Linked DNA regions of Homo sapiens: regions 1, 2 and 4 are each linked to region 3. The links are contacts of gene promoters, found by promoter capture Hi-C in blood cells and fetal thymus (Javierre and others, 2016). All regions are on one chromosome and are shown on one strand. The core of a region is centred on a gene start or on the middle of the fragment in contact, and the rest is flanking DNA. Distances in the headings are between cores, read along the strand shown. Region 1 overlaps LIPC (lipase C, hepatic type). Region 2 overlaps LIPC (lipase C, hepatic type). Region 3 holds the start of ADAM10 (ADAM metallopeptidase domain 10). Region 4 overlaps LIPC (lipase C, hepatic type).

Evidence for each region. The method cuts DNA at HindIII sites, captures the fragments that hold promoters and counts their contacts. A CHiCAGO score of 5 or more calls a contact.
Region 1: a contact is called between a fragment that was not itself captured here and the fragment with the promoter of ADAM10 in region 3, in 11 of 17 cell types (megakaryocytes, erythroblasts, M2 macrophages and 8 more). The highest score is 11.2, in megakaryocytes.
Region 2: a contact is called between a fragment that was not itself captured here and the fragment with the promoter of ADAM10 in region 3, in 12 of 17 cell types (M2 macrophages, fetal thymus, megakaryocytes and 9 more). The highest score is 10.3, in M2 macrophages.
Region 4: a contact is called between a fragment that was not itself captured here and the fragment with the promoter of ADAM10 in region 3, in 8 of 17 cell types (megakaryocytes, fetal thymus, activated CD4 T cells and 5 more). The highest score is 8.4, in megakaryocytes.

The regions. Positions count from the first base shown.
Region 1 is chr15:58,433,793-58,436,624 of GRCh38, reverse strand. All of the region lies in intron 1 of LIPC (lipase C, hepatic type), which reads right to left. LIPC-AS1 (LIPC antisense RNA 1) reads left to right here. Exons shown (of 3, transcript NR_120338.1): 3 at 1-1,724. Among named protein-coding and RNA genes, the nearest start is that of LIPC, 3.2 kb to the right of the region's middle. The HindIII fragment of the contact is 1,784 bases long and covers 598-2,381 here.
Region 2 is chr15:58,452,420-58,455,359 of GRCh38, reverse strand. All of the region lies in intron 1 of LIPC (lipase C, hepatic type), which reads right to left. The region is part of intron 2 of LIPC-AS1 (LIPC antisense RNA 1); the gene reads left to right. Among named protein-coding and RNA genes, the nearest start is that of LIPC, 22 kb to the right of the region's middle. The HindIII fragment of the contact is 5,070 bases long and covers 1-2,940 here.
Region 3 is chr15:58,748,225-58,750,982 of GRCh38, reverse strand. It overlaps ADAM10 (ADAM metallopeptidase domain 10), which reads left to right and starts at 1,276. Exons shown (of 16, transcript NM_001110.4): 1 at 1,276-1,503. The coding sequence starts at 1,449. RefSeq lists enhancers at 657-836, 1,927-2,056, 1,508-2,143 and silencers at 907-1,196, 1,527-1,816. The HindIII fragment of the contact is 2,079 bases long and covers 473-2,551 here.
Region 4 is chr15:58,491,218-58,493,947 of GRCh38, reverse strand. All of the region lies in intron 1 of LIPC (lipase C, hepatic type), which reads right to left. The region is part of intron 2 of LIPC-AS1 (LIPC antisense RNA 1); the gene reads left to right. Among named protein-coding and RNA genes, the nearest start is that of LIPC-AS1, 6.2 kb to the left of the region's middle. The HindIII fragment of the contact is 801 bases long and covers 855-1,655 here.

The sequences.
Region 1 (2,832 bases), core at 240-2,739, 310 kb after region 3:
GAACGGATCATTTTAATGACCCTCTGCTCTATAAGACAAAAGTATTTTCAGTCATATTTATGTAAAAATCAGCAATCATCACTACTTTCTCGATTTCTTCTTTAGTTATAAAGCAGTGAACAATTTTTAAAAAGACAAATACATTTTAACTTTAAGATATTCAAATGCAGTAAAAATATTTTTCGTATGAGTCCAAATTTTTACCTATCAAACAAGATGTTACAACTCATTGTTCACAATCTGTTTTGTTGCTTTAAATTTTAAACACATATGAGAAGCTTACAGGGGTCACCTAGGATGAGAGAATTGAAATAATTCAAGTTCTGGTTTTTTGTTTGTACAACCACTACGCTATCATTTTTTGTTTCAAATCTACTGTTTACATGCAGAAGCAGGTAATAAGTGCCACTGAGGTTGGAGACATAAGGACGTCAAAGGATCTGAACCATCGCACACTTACTCTTGCAACAAGAACACGCCCCTGAGTCTGTGCATGTTGGGGCCAAGTGCATAACCGGGAGTTCTCCAGATTAATGTCAATGTAGAACACAATATTTATGAAAGGATAAATAATAAAGATGTGATGAATTTGAAGCTTACATATACTTACTACATAAAATCCAACAGTAACCACGGAGATTGTTTAGAACTTAGGCCATAAAACCATTTTTTTCTGGAAAGAGCTTTGCCTTTATCGCTGATACTCTTTCTTTTGGGATGGAGTTTCACTTTGTTGCCCAGGATGGAGTGCGACGGCGCCATCTCGGCTCATTGCAACCTCTGCCTCCCGGGTTCAAGCAATTCTCCTGCCTCAGCGTACCAAGTAGCTGGGATTACAGGTGCCCATGACCAAGCCTGGCTAATGTTTTGTATTTTTAGTAGAGATGGCATTTTACCATGTTGGCCAGGCTGGTTTTGAACTCCTAACCTCAGGTGATCCACCCACCTCGGCCTCCCAAAGTGCTGGGATTACAGGCGTGAGCCACGGCGCCCGGCTGACATTCTTTATAATTGTGATAATGACAGGCAGATCAGCTTTTGGTTATATTTGTATTTAAATTCTCCACAGACGGTTGCTCTTTTATTGATGGCACATCCCCCCTCCACCCAGTCCCATGGCCCCCTATTCCCTCCCCACCCCACTCCCACCCCATTTGACTGTAAATTCCTGCAAGGTGGGGACGGCTGTGCAGCCCCCTGTTGTACAGTGCCCACTGCACAAGCGCAGTGGTTTGCAGGCCAAGGCCCCAGGGAGATCGCCTTAGGATGTCCTCCCTTTTCCTCTATGGGAGGCCAGATTTTCTTCCTACATTTCAAACAAAGCAATACATCACAACAGACTGAGTACAGAAACAGGTAAGATAATCCAGCTGTCTTGGGAAGCCAGATATTAGAGAGATTTGCAACATTTCTTTGTAAAACAATGTCACTCTTCTCCATTTAAAACTTATTTGGAAAATACAAGTTATTTTTCATAAAATTACATTATATGTGTTAATATGCAAGGGTTTATTATCATTTTAAAAAGTGTTAGCAGATTTTAAAGATTTCTCAGTTTTAATTTCTAATGAAGGAAATATTGATATCTCACATAATAAACACTGTTTGGGGTCCTCAGTGATTTTTAAGAGAGGAAACGTGTGAACAGAGTGTGTGAGTTGTACTCAGGCACTGCGTTACGTATGGCAGGTGCTCATGTATGCTTGTGACACTCATGAGGGACTGACTGAATAGGTAGCTTTCAGCTGCTCCTAGGATTTGCAAGCTGAGGCTGGGGTGGAGGGGAGGGAGAAGGTGCCTGTTGATAGTGGGCCCAGTACCGGGAAGGTGGGACTTGCCAGGGTCTAGGAGCAGCGTTGGCTCTCATGGCAACACCGACTGGGGAACCTGGGTCTCAGGCATTGGGGCTGGGCATAAGTGTGATGTGCCATGTGGGCTTCAAGCAGCTCACGCTATCCAGTCCCCCTTAGTGCTGAAGGGCAGGAACAACTGTCTAAATCTCCCTCTCTGTGAGAGGAACTGAGCAGAATGTTTTTCTAGAAACCTCTGGCTGTCAAATCACTGGGTGTGGGCTCGACACAGAGCACTGCGGCCTCAGTAGACAGATTGAGGCTGCAGGTACCTCTCCCTGCTCTGCCCTGACCAGCTATGCGACCGCCGGCAAGGCACTTAACTGCCAGCTTACTCAACCATATGGTGAGGATGAGATAAAATGTCCGTGGAGTGCCTGGCACATGCTGGGTGTGCAGCACATTAGTGACTCCATTAGTAAGATGTCATTAATAATAAATACTCAAAAGAAGTAGGCTGGGAGGAGGGGCTAAAGAGGAAGGGTCCTTGAGGGAGTACTTCCTGGTGCTCGATGAGTGACAGTTGAAGCTTGGCATAGATCATGGTTTCTCAGCCTCTGCACTAATAATGTTTTGGGCCAGACAATTCATTGTTGTGAGGGCTGTCCTGTGCATTGTAGGATGTGAAGCAGCTTCCCTGGCCTCTACCCACTAGATGCTGGAAGGGAAGCACTCTCTCCCTGGTCTTAACAACCAAAAACCAAAAATGTCTCCAGACATTGCCAAGTGTCCCCTGGAGGGCAAAATTGCCCCTGTTGAGAACCATTGGTGTAGAAACTTTCCTGACAAGGGCTCCACCACAGGACACCGGCTTCCCTGCGGTTTCCCCAGAAAGACATCATACCAGCCACATGCACACAGATTGGGCTCACTCATTGCAGAAAGAATTCTGCCAAGAGATTCTGCTTCCAAGAGAACAAGAGGCCTCCTGACTTGGATCCTCTTTTCTGAGGAACCCTCTTGCTAATAGTGGCCACTTCTC
Region 2 (2,940 bases), core at 204-2,703, 300 kb after region 3:
TTAGGTTTATTGGAACACAGCCAGGTCCATTTGTGTGTCTATTGTCTGTGGCTGCTTTTGTGCTGCAATAGCAGAGTTGAGTAGTTTTAACAGACACCTATGGCCTACAAAAGGAAAAATATTTACTGTCTGGCCCTTTACAGAGAAAAGTTTGCTGAACCTTGCTTTACACAGTCAACAAAACAATACATCAAACCCTAATCTATAATGTTTGCCAATGTCCATGTATAAATACAGCCATCATGGCTGCTGTTAAGCTCCCACTGTGATGTTACTGATAACGGAGTTGGGAAGAGATTCACTTTGGTGTATCATTGAATAGTATTTCCACCACACAGTACGACAGACGGAAATAACCTTACAGACAGAGACAATAGTAAAATGAGAACAGAGGAGTTTTGAGTATTTATTACTGTCATTTTAAACATTTGTTTCATTGTAAGTTCTATAATGTAATTTTAAAATAATGGCTATGTTTAAAAATCAGCTTGCAAAATTCTTGAAAATTTAGCAATTGGCTTTGTGAGAGGGTGAGGGCTTTCATCTTCCCTGGGGAAAATATGATCCCAGCCCATGTGGGCGACACATCTCACCAAACCCCAGGCCCTGGGGGTGAGCGCTGCACGTGGTAAGGGCATGGGAGGGTCTTGTGAGCATCAGAAGTCTTAAACTTGAAGAAAGAAGCCTCTTGTGTGTAGCAGAGGCCCCAACCCCACCTGTTGACTAGAAAATTGCCATGCACTGTGGTCACCATGTGGGAGTAAAACCATGAACTTCCACCCACCATAGGCAGAAGTGAATCATTCAGACAGAGCCATCCAGAAGGCACAGATGGCTTCCTGACCCCATTTGACCTGGGCTGGGTACTCCATGGAGCTCAAGCTCAAGGTCAGCTCTGTCAGCCCCAAACCCCAGCTTTCTGCTTTGGAAGTACCAGCTTATATCCCCACCCTTTCCCCCAGCCCAGGAAGGGAGTAAAGCCAAAGGGGTTCCAGGGGAACCTAAGACCTTGGCCTGGGAAGGTGATGGTTGGGACCCATGTGACTGGGCATGACCAGAACGAATTGGTGTTTTCCCTAAGGAAATCCCTTGCCCCAAACTCTCCCCTGCCAGCTGCTCTGTGGCCTTGGAGACAAGCTATTTCTCTGGTTATTTGCTCCAAGTTCACCCAGAGCTGGAAGACAAGTGTGGCTGAGGCACCTGCATGAAACAGCAGGGAGAGAACAGGTGCTCAGGAGTCACTGGGCTGGGTTCCCATCTTGCCATCACCTCTGCATGTGTGACCTTGGGCTTGTCACTTAATCTCTCTGAGCCTGTTTCCTTATAGGTTAAACACCTCACAGAATCACTGTGGGGTCAACTGAGATAATGTATGTGAAGACGCATTGCAAATAGCAAATGTGGCACCAGGACATCTGCTGAAACAACAGGTGCTAAGGAACCCACATTCTATCCATTTTTTTTCTTTTTCTTTTCTTTTCTTTTTTTTTTTTGAGACAGGGTCTTGCTGTGCATGATCATGGCTCACTGCAGCCTCGCTCTCTGTGGCTCAAGCAATTCTCCCACCTCAGCCTCCCTAGTAGCTAGGACTATACCAGGCCTGGCTGATTTTTTTTTACTTTTAGTAGTTGGGATTTCACCATATTGCCCAGGCTGGTCTTGACCTCATGGGGTCAAGCAATCCACCTGCCTCGGCCTCCCAAAGTGCTGGGATTACAGGCATAAGCCACCGCGCCAATGTACGGAACCCACACTCTGTAATGAGAGTTGCCAGCAACTGGGGCCAAATTCTTCAAACTCCAGGGCTCTCAAAGAAGCAGTCTCTATTCCCATCACCACCTTCCCCCAGCCCATGTTAGACAGACAAGTGGGAGAGGGAGAGTAGGAATTGCTGGGAGAATAATTTAGTTCTCTTCTTCCCATTGTTAGTCTCTAGAGTTCAAGTTGGGGGACCGATTAGAATCACTTACCGAGAATGCGGAATGAGGGTGCCTGCAGGAGGCAGAAATGGTCATATTGTTCCAGGCTGTATGCTGGCTGAGACGTTGCTATTCTAGGTCCCATGTGGTGCTGGGGATATGAGGATGGAGTTTTGGAGAGAGACTGACCTGTATCCATAGGAGTTTATGGGACTGTGTGGCAACGTGGGGGTTGTGCCTGTTTTAGCCATCTGAAGAGAGGAGGCTCAGCCAAGCGGGGAGAAGAAATACTATGAGGCAGTGTACCTGAGGGGATGGGTCCCCACACCTCAGCTCCCATCAATCCTCAGAGGCGGGGAAGAAGACCGAAGTCATTTCTGAGACTTTGTACAGGAGGACAGAGTAGGAGGGGCATGGACCTTTGGAGAAGCCAAAAGGGGCCACAGCTGTCCTTAGTGACAAATGGGCTGGGCTCACACCGATAGGGCCCTCAGAAAACCACATCCACATCTTCACAGGCCAAGGCCACCAGCAGCAGATGGGACCACAGTGAACCAGAGCAAGAGCAGACCACTCACAAGAGATGAGGACCTCTGTGTCCCCCAGCTGTACCCTCACTACCAGCTCCCAGTCCCATGGGGGTTGGGCTCTGAAAAATGAGGGGCAGCAATCCCAGGACCAGGCCTCACCCTGCCCTCCCACCCCATCCCACTCCACCCTACCCCACGGTGCTCCAGAGAAAAGAGGAGTGAAAGAGCAGAACTATCCTATCCCCTCCCCACTGCAGATTCCATCTTCTTTGAGTCTAGCTCATGAGAGAAGGGAAGAATGTCAAATCAGATGTGAGATTGAGGCTTTAGAATAAAGTAAAATAACTTAATAATCGAACTGACCAAAAGTTAAAGGAATCTGCCCAGGATGCTATAAAGGGATGGAAGCATATAACTTGATAGTGCGTGGCTGAAGGCTGGAATGGGAGAAATAGAAAACTGTTTCACGTTCACACTCTTCTAAATTCAGA
Region 3 (2,758 bases), core at 27-2,526:
TAAGGCCGAGCGCAGTGGCTCACGCCTGTAATCCCAGCACTTGTGGGAGGCCGAGGCGGGAGGATCGCTTGAGTTGGAGGTTACAGTGAGCTATGATCACACCACTGCACTTCAGCCTGGCGAGACAGCGGATACCTTGTCTTTAGAAAGCAAAACAAAACAATTTACACACACACACACACACACACACTCTCCCTAATTCGGCTTGAGTTGGAGGTTACAGTGAGCTATGATCACACCACTGCACTTCAGCCTGGCGAGACAGCGGAGACCTTGTCTTTAGAAAGCAAAACAAAACAATTTACACATACACACACACACACACGCACACACACACTCTCCCTAATTCGGCCTACTCAAGCACGATACCAAATAGATGAAGAATATCTAATTAAATGGCCATAAAAAGTTCTAGTTCATGACATCCAAGTTTAAAGAATCAAAATGAGTTACGAGAAAACAAACACAAGCTTTAAGAAGTTGGGGAGAAGATGTGCGTGGATTCGCTTCAAAGATGTGACAGAGAGAAAAGAGGACATTTTCTGGACTGGAGATTCAAGACAGTCTGGTTCAGGTTGCATGCTTTTGCAAAGGCTAAAGCCTTAGTCTGTGACATAAATTTGTAAAGAGCTCGGAAAATTACATCTCGGACATGGTGTCTTTTTTTCCTGCTGCTTGAAGGTCTTTGCATTTATGTTCGCATCACTGGGGCAGCTGCCGCTATAATTACTGCTTGTTGGGACTTTTTGTTTACTTGGTAGCTGTGGTGCACCAAGAGAGGCAGAAAAAGAAGAAAAAAAACCTCTGTTACTTGTGACGTTAAGAAGTCGAAAGCAGCCCTGCTTACATCTTCCACGGACCATTTTAGCCCAAGGGAAGGTCCTCAGCAGCTCTAACACGTAGCGGAGCACTATCTCCGCGTAGGAGCGCTCCCGCCCCGGGGCGGGACCAGGACAAACCCCGCCTCCCAAGCCCAATCCCAGCTCTCCGCCGGCGGACAGGAAGCGGCGGCAGGCCTAGCAGCACGGGAACCGTCCCCCGCGCGCATGCGCGCGCCCCTGAAGCGCCTGGGGGACGGGTAGGGGCGGGAGGTAGGGGCGCGGCTCCGCGTGCCAGTTGGGTGCCCGCGCGTCACGTGGTGAGGAAGGAGGCGGAGGTCTGAGTTTCGAAGGAGGGGGGGAGAGAAGAGGGAACGAGCAAGGGAAGGAAAGCGGGGAAAGGAGGAAGGAAACGAACGAGGGGGAGGGAGGTCCCTGTTTTGGAGGAGCTAGGAGCGTTGCCGGCCCCTGAAGTGGAGCGAGAGGGAGGTGCTTCGCCGTTTCTCCTGCCAGGGGAGGTCCCGGCTTCCCGTGGAGGCTCCGGACCAAGCCCCTTCAGCTTCTCCCTCCGGATCGATGTGCTGCTGTTAACCCGTGAGGAGGCGGCGGCGGCGGCAGCGGCAGCGGAAGATGGTGTTGCTGAGAGTGTTAATTCTGCTCCTCTCCTGGGCGGCGGGGATGGGAGGTGAGGCACGACTGCGAGCGCCGGGGGCGCCGCGACCACGGCGGAGCGGCGGCCGGGCCGAGCGGAGCCCAGTCGCGCCTCGCGGCGTGCGCGTCAGTCAGCCCAGCCGGCCAGCGGCGCCACTCTGGCGGGCCGCGCTCCCCGCTCCCTATTGTCCCCCGCGCCCCGACCGCTTTCCCTTCGGTGGCGGGCCGAGGAGGCTCCCAAGCCTCCGGCGAGGCCTTCCCCGCCCCCCACCGCCCTGGCGGCCCCGGGAGGCGGGGGTCGCCTCCCAGAGAAGCGAAGTCGGGGCATCCGCGTCGCCTGGTGAGAGCGGTGGAACCCAGGCTGGTGGCTGCATCCCTCCAGTCTGCTCGGCGGGCGCCGGTGCAGGCAGCCGCAGCGAGGCTGGCGGTCTCGCCGTCCTCGTTCAGCGCTCATCCTGCTCACCATTCCTCCCCCAGCCCCTGCCCGGTGGCGGATTCCGAAGTCCTCTCCGCCGCCGAGACCCGCCGCGCAGACTCGTGGGAAGTTGTGTTGTTTGCAGCTGGGCTCGTGTATTGTTCTTTACCCGGCGCGCCGGTCCTGACCGACCCCATTCTGCAGAGGGGCCGCCCGTGGAGTGGCAGCAGTCATCACCCGCTTATCTGAGACTAGTGGCCTCGGTTCTTCCTGTGTCCTGTGTTTGGAGAGAGATCACAGGAGGGTGTGTTGGTGTTCTTGAAAACATTCTGTCGCCCAGGGGAAAGGGTTTGGTCGGGAGAAGGGTAAACCATTTGGGGATGTTCTTTGATTTGTAGGCTGGATTGGGTCTCTTAGAGTAGAAGTTCGGTCCCTGGGTGACCCAACTTGAAGAGTTTCGTTAAACTTTCAGGTGGAGTAGATGTACAGTGTAGTTAGTGGATTGTCAAAACAGTGCCCCCTCCCCCCTGCACATGAAAGTCAAATTTGCTAAAAGCATGTCATTTCTTGTTTCGGGTTTTGAAGACAACGATTTTTATTTCCGGTGTGTTCTAGGACCAGCTGCATCATTTTATTCTTGCTTAAAGTGCTTTATTTTAGGTAAGCTTTTTGACTTGCCCCAGAGTAAACTTAAAAACCTCAAGGTGTGCCTAAAAGCAACGATTGAAAAAATTTGAGGAATGCTTTGGATGAGTGTCTGTAGCCTTTGATAATTTAGAAAATATCTATTTCATGTAATGTATTGTTTCTGTTTTTTTCTTTGCCACTTTGACTTATGACTGCAGGACCAAGTGTATTTCTGTCCTGTATTCTA
Region 4 (2,730 bases), core at 6-2,505, 260 kb after region 3:
TACCTGGGGTTGTTCTAGTAAATAAAGTTCCCCCACAAGCAATTCATTCCTTTCAGTACCCATTGCCATCTTCCTGTGCGTCTCATGAAGAAAACACCCGTGGGAGTTGTTCATGCTTAAGGAGGTTTCAATTTCTTTTATAGTGAGCCATATAAATATATATAAACTTATATATTCAAATATATAAATATTATAGATATATTAACATTTAAAAAATATTTCACATATACAAATATATACAAAATTTTGTATAAATTTTATTTATACGTAATAAATTTTGTATAAATTTTATTTATACGTAATAAATTTTGTATAAATTTTATTTATACGTAATAAATTTTGTATAAATTTTATTTATACGTAATAAATTTTGTATAAATTTTATTTATATGTAATAAATTTTGTATATATACAAAATACATACTTTTTTTCTAGGTGTGTATATATGTATATATACACAAAAAAATATATATATATTTTAAATTGTGAATGGCAGGATCTAATGTGTGCATAGTGAGCCAAACTCGGGTGTGGGCCAGGCACATATGGAGTCTTTATTTCTTGTCTGTTTTCCTAGGTTCCCTACGATGCCCCAGTTTTGTGACATAATTTCAGTGGAGTTAAAGATCCCACAGCACCAGCTGCTAGTCCAAACGGGCAGACAGTAGGCAGGCTGTGGTGGAGTGCTGGCGGGAGGAGGTGGCCGGCAGAGAGAACCTCCTCGCCTTGCTAGTTATGTGAGCTTCCTAATCATGTGAAGTTGATTTTGCTGAGTCATCACTGATGAGGGTATGGGTTCTTTTGGTCTGATGATGATGTGAGATACCATGGGGGGCCAGGGTGGATGGGAAGCTTCCTAAGTATGAGTTTACTTATTAAATCAGTTTTCTTCATGACAGCAAGAAAGTTCTGGATCACTGGGAGAATGGAAGAGCACCTGGCGCCAGGATTTAGCAGAGATATCATTTAGGAATCCATCAGGAATGGAAGAGCATGTAGAAAATTAGGGGCATACGGGGGAAAATAAGCTCTGATGTAATCCTGCAGATTTGCCCAGGGCCCCCTCTCCTGTTCTTGGCCAGCTGTCAGGAGGAAAAGGCTCTGTGAATGATGTCTTACTCAGGCACCTGTTTATGGATTTCCATCCTGTCCCAGGGATATTTGGGTTTAAGGAGGGGGGTGAGTGAAACTTTAAAACAAAACAGAACAAAAAACAAAAATAGAGGAATTCCAGGCACCAGGTGGAGATTGGTGGGACAGAGCCCTAGATTTGGTTTTAGAACTCTACCACTGGCTTGATTGGCTTTGGGTGGCTACATTTGCAGAGCTGGGTGGCACAGAGCTAAAAGAATGGGCCTGAGTGGGAACTTGGGCTCTTGTGGACTGTGTGGCCTTGGGCAGGTAACTTGGCCTCTTTGGATTGTCCTTGTTTGTAAAACGAAATTCAATGATAGTTCATAGCTAATACTTTTGTGGGGGTTTAGAGTAGGAGAATGCTTAGTACAGACTTGCCACATAGTAGAATAAAGATAAGCTATTACAGCTTTATAATGTGTTTATATTATGGCTATGTATATTATAGTAACATTACAATAATATCAATTAATGACAGTAATATTAATATACTACAGCTATGTAATAATACCTAGGAAGCTTCCATGGCCATAGAGAGCATGGTTTTAGGTTTCTTCCACTTGCCTGACCTTTCCTACCTGCCATTCACAAACATCAAAGCAGGCCAAGTTGAGGATCTGCTAGGAACTGAGGGCAGGGTGGGCCACAGGCCATCTGGGGAGGGTGCTTGTTCTTCTGGGTAGAATGCTTGGGGAGCCTCCCCTGCTGTCAGATTCTGGGTGGCACCTCTGTTCTTGGCAGGGACAGTCCCTCTCTGGGGCTGGGGAAGGCTGTACAATGGGTGCTCTGTTGCTTGCTGGGACCATGTCAAGGTATCCAACTGGGTCAGAAATGCAGCTACAGAGCTGGGACCCCCTGCTCCAGGTCATGTGTGAAAGTGTGGGCAGAGAGACCTCCAGCCTCCAGGCCTGTTAGCATCTCTGGAAGGACCAATAGGAATCACGTGGCAGGCAGTGTTTCTGGCACCCTGAGCTCTCAGTGGGGTCAACAGTCCTGTGGTACCCCAGCCCTCTTAGGTCAGGCCAGGGATGAGGGAAGGGCCAGTGCTTTGTACCTCTGGTCAGGCAATGGCAGTTTCCCACTAAAGCCCTACGACTTTGACTCTTGTCCCAGAAGTTTTACCACACACTGAATAAAAGTACGACTGTGAAGTTGTTGCTGCCTGACAGCTGGTTGCAAAACTGTGCCTTGCCCAGCACCTGGCACCAGTATTTGGCAGAGATATCATTTAGGAATCCATCAGGAATTTGGTCTCTGGGGTATGAAACTGAGGTGGGGAAGGAGAGGGTGGAGAGGGTTGGTTTAAAGTAACTTTAGCACCTCTTATTGTTTTAAGTAGTCTGCCAGGCAGTGACATTCATTTGGTCTTTTAAACCTGACAACCAAGATAGTATTATAATTATTCCCACTCTACAGGCCAGGAAACTGAGCCTCAGAGAAGCTGAGTGACTTGCCTTGGTGACACATCTGGGGAGAGTAGAGTGAGGATTAAAGCCTGCTGCTGTCTGCTTGAAATTCCCATGCTCTGACCACTCTATGGCACTGCCTGGCTGGACTAACTATTTCCCTATTGTGTTTGGCAGGTGCTGTCATTTC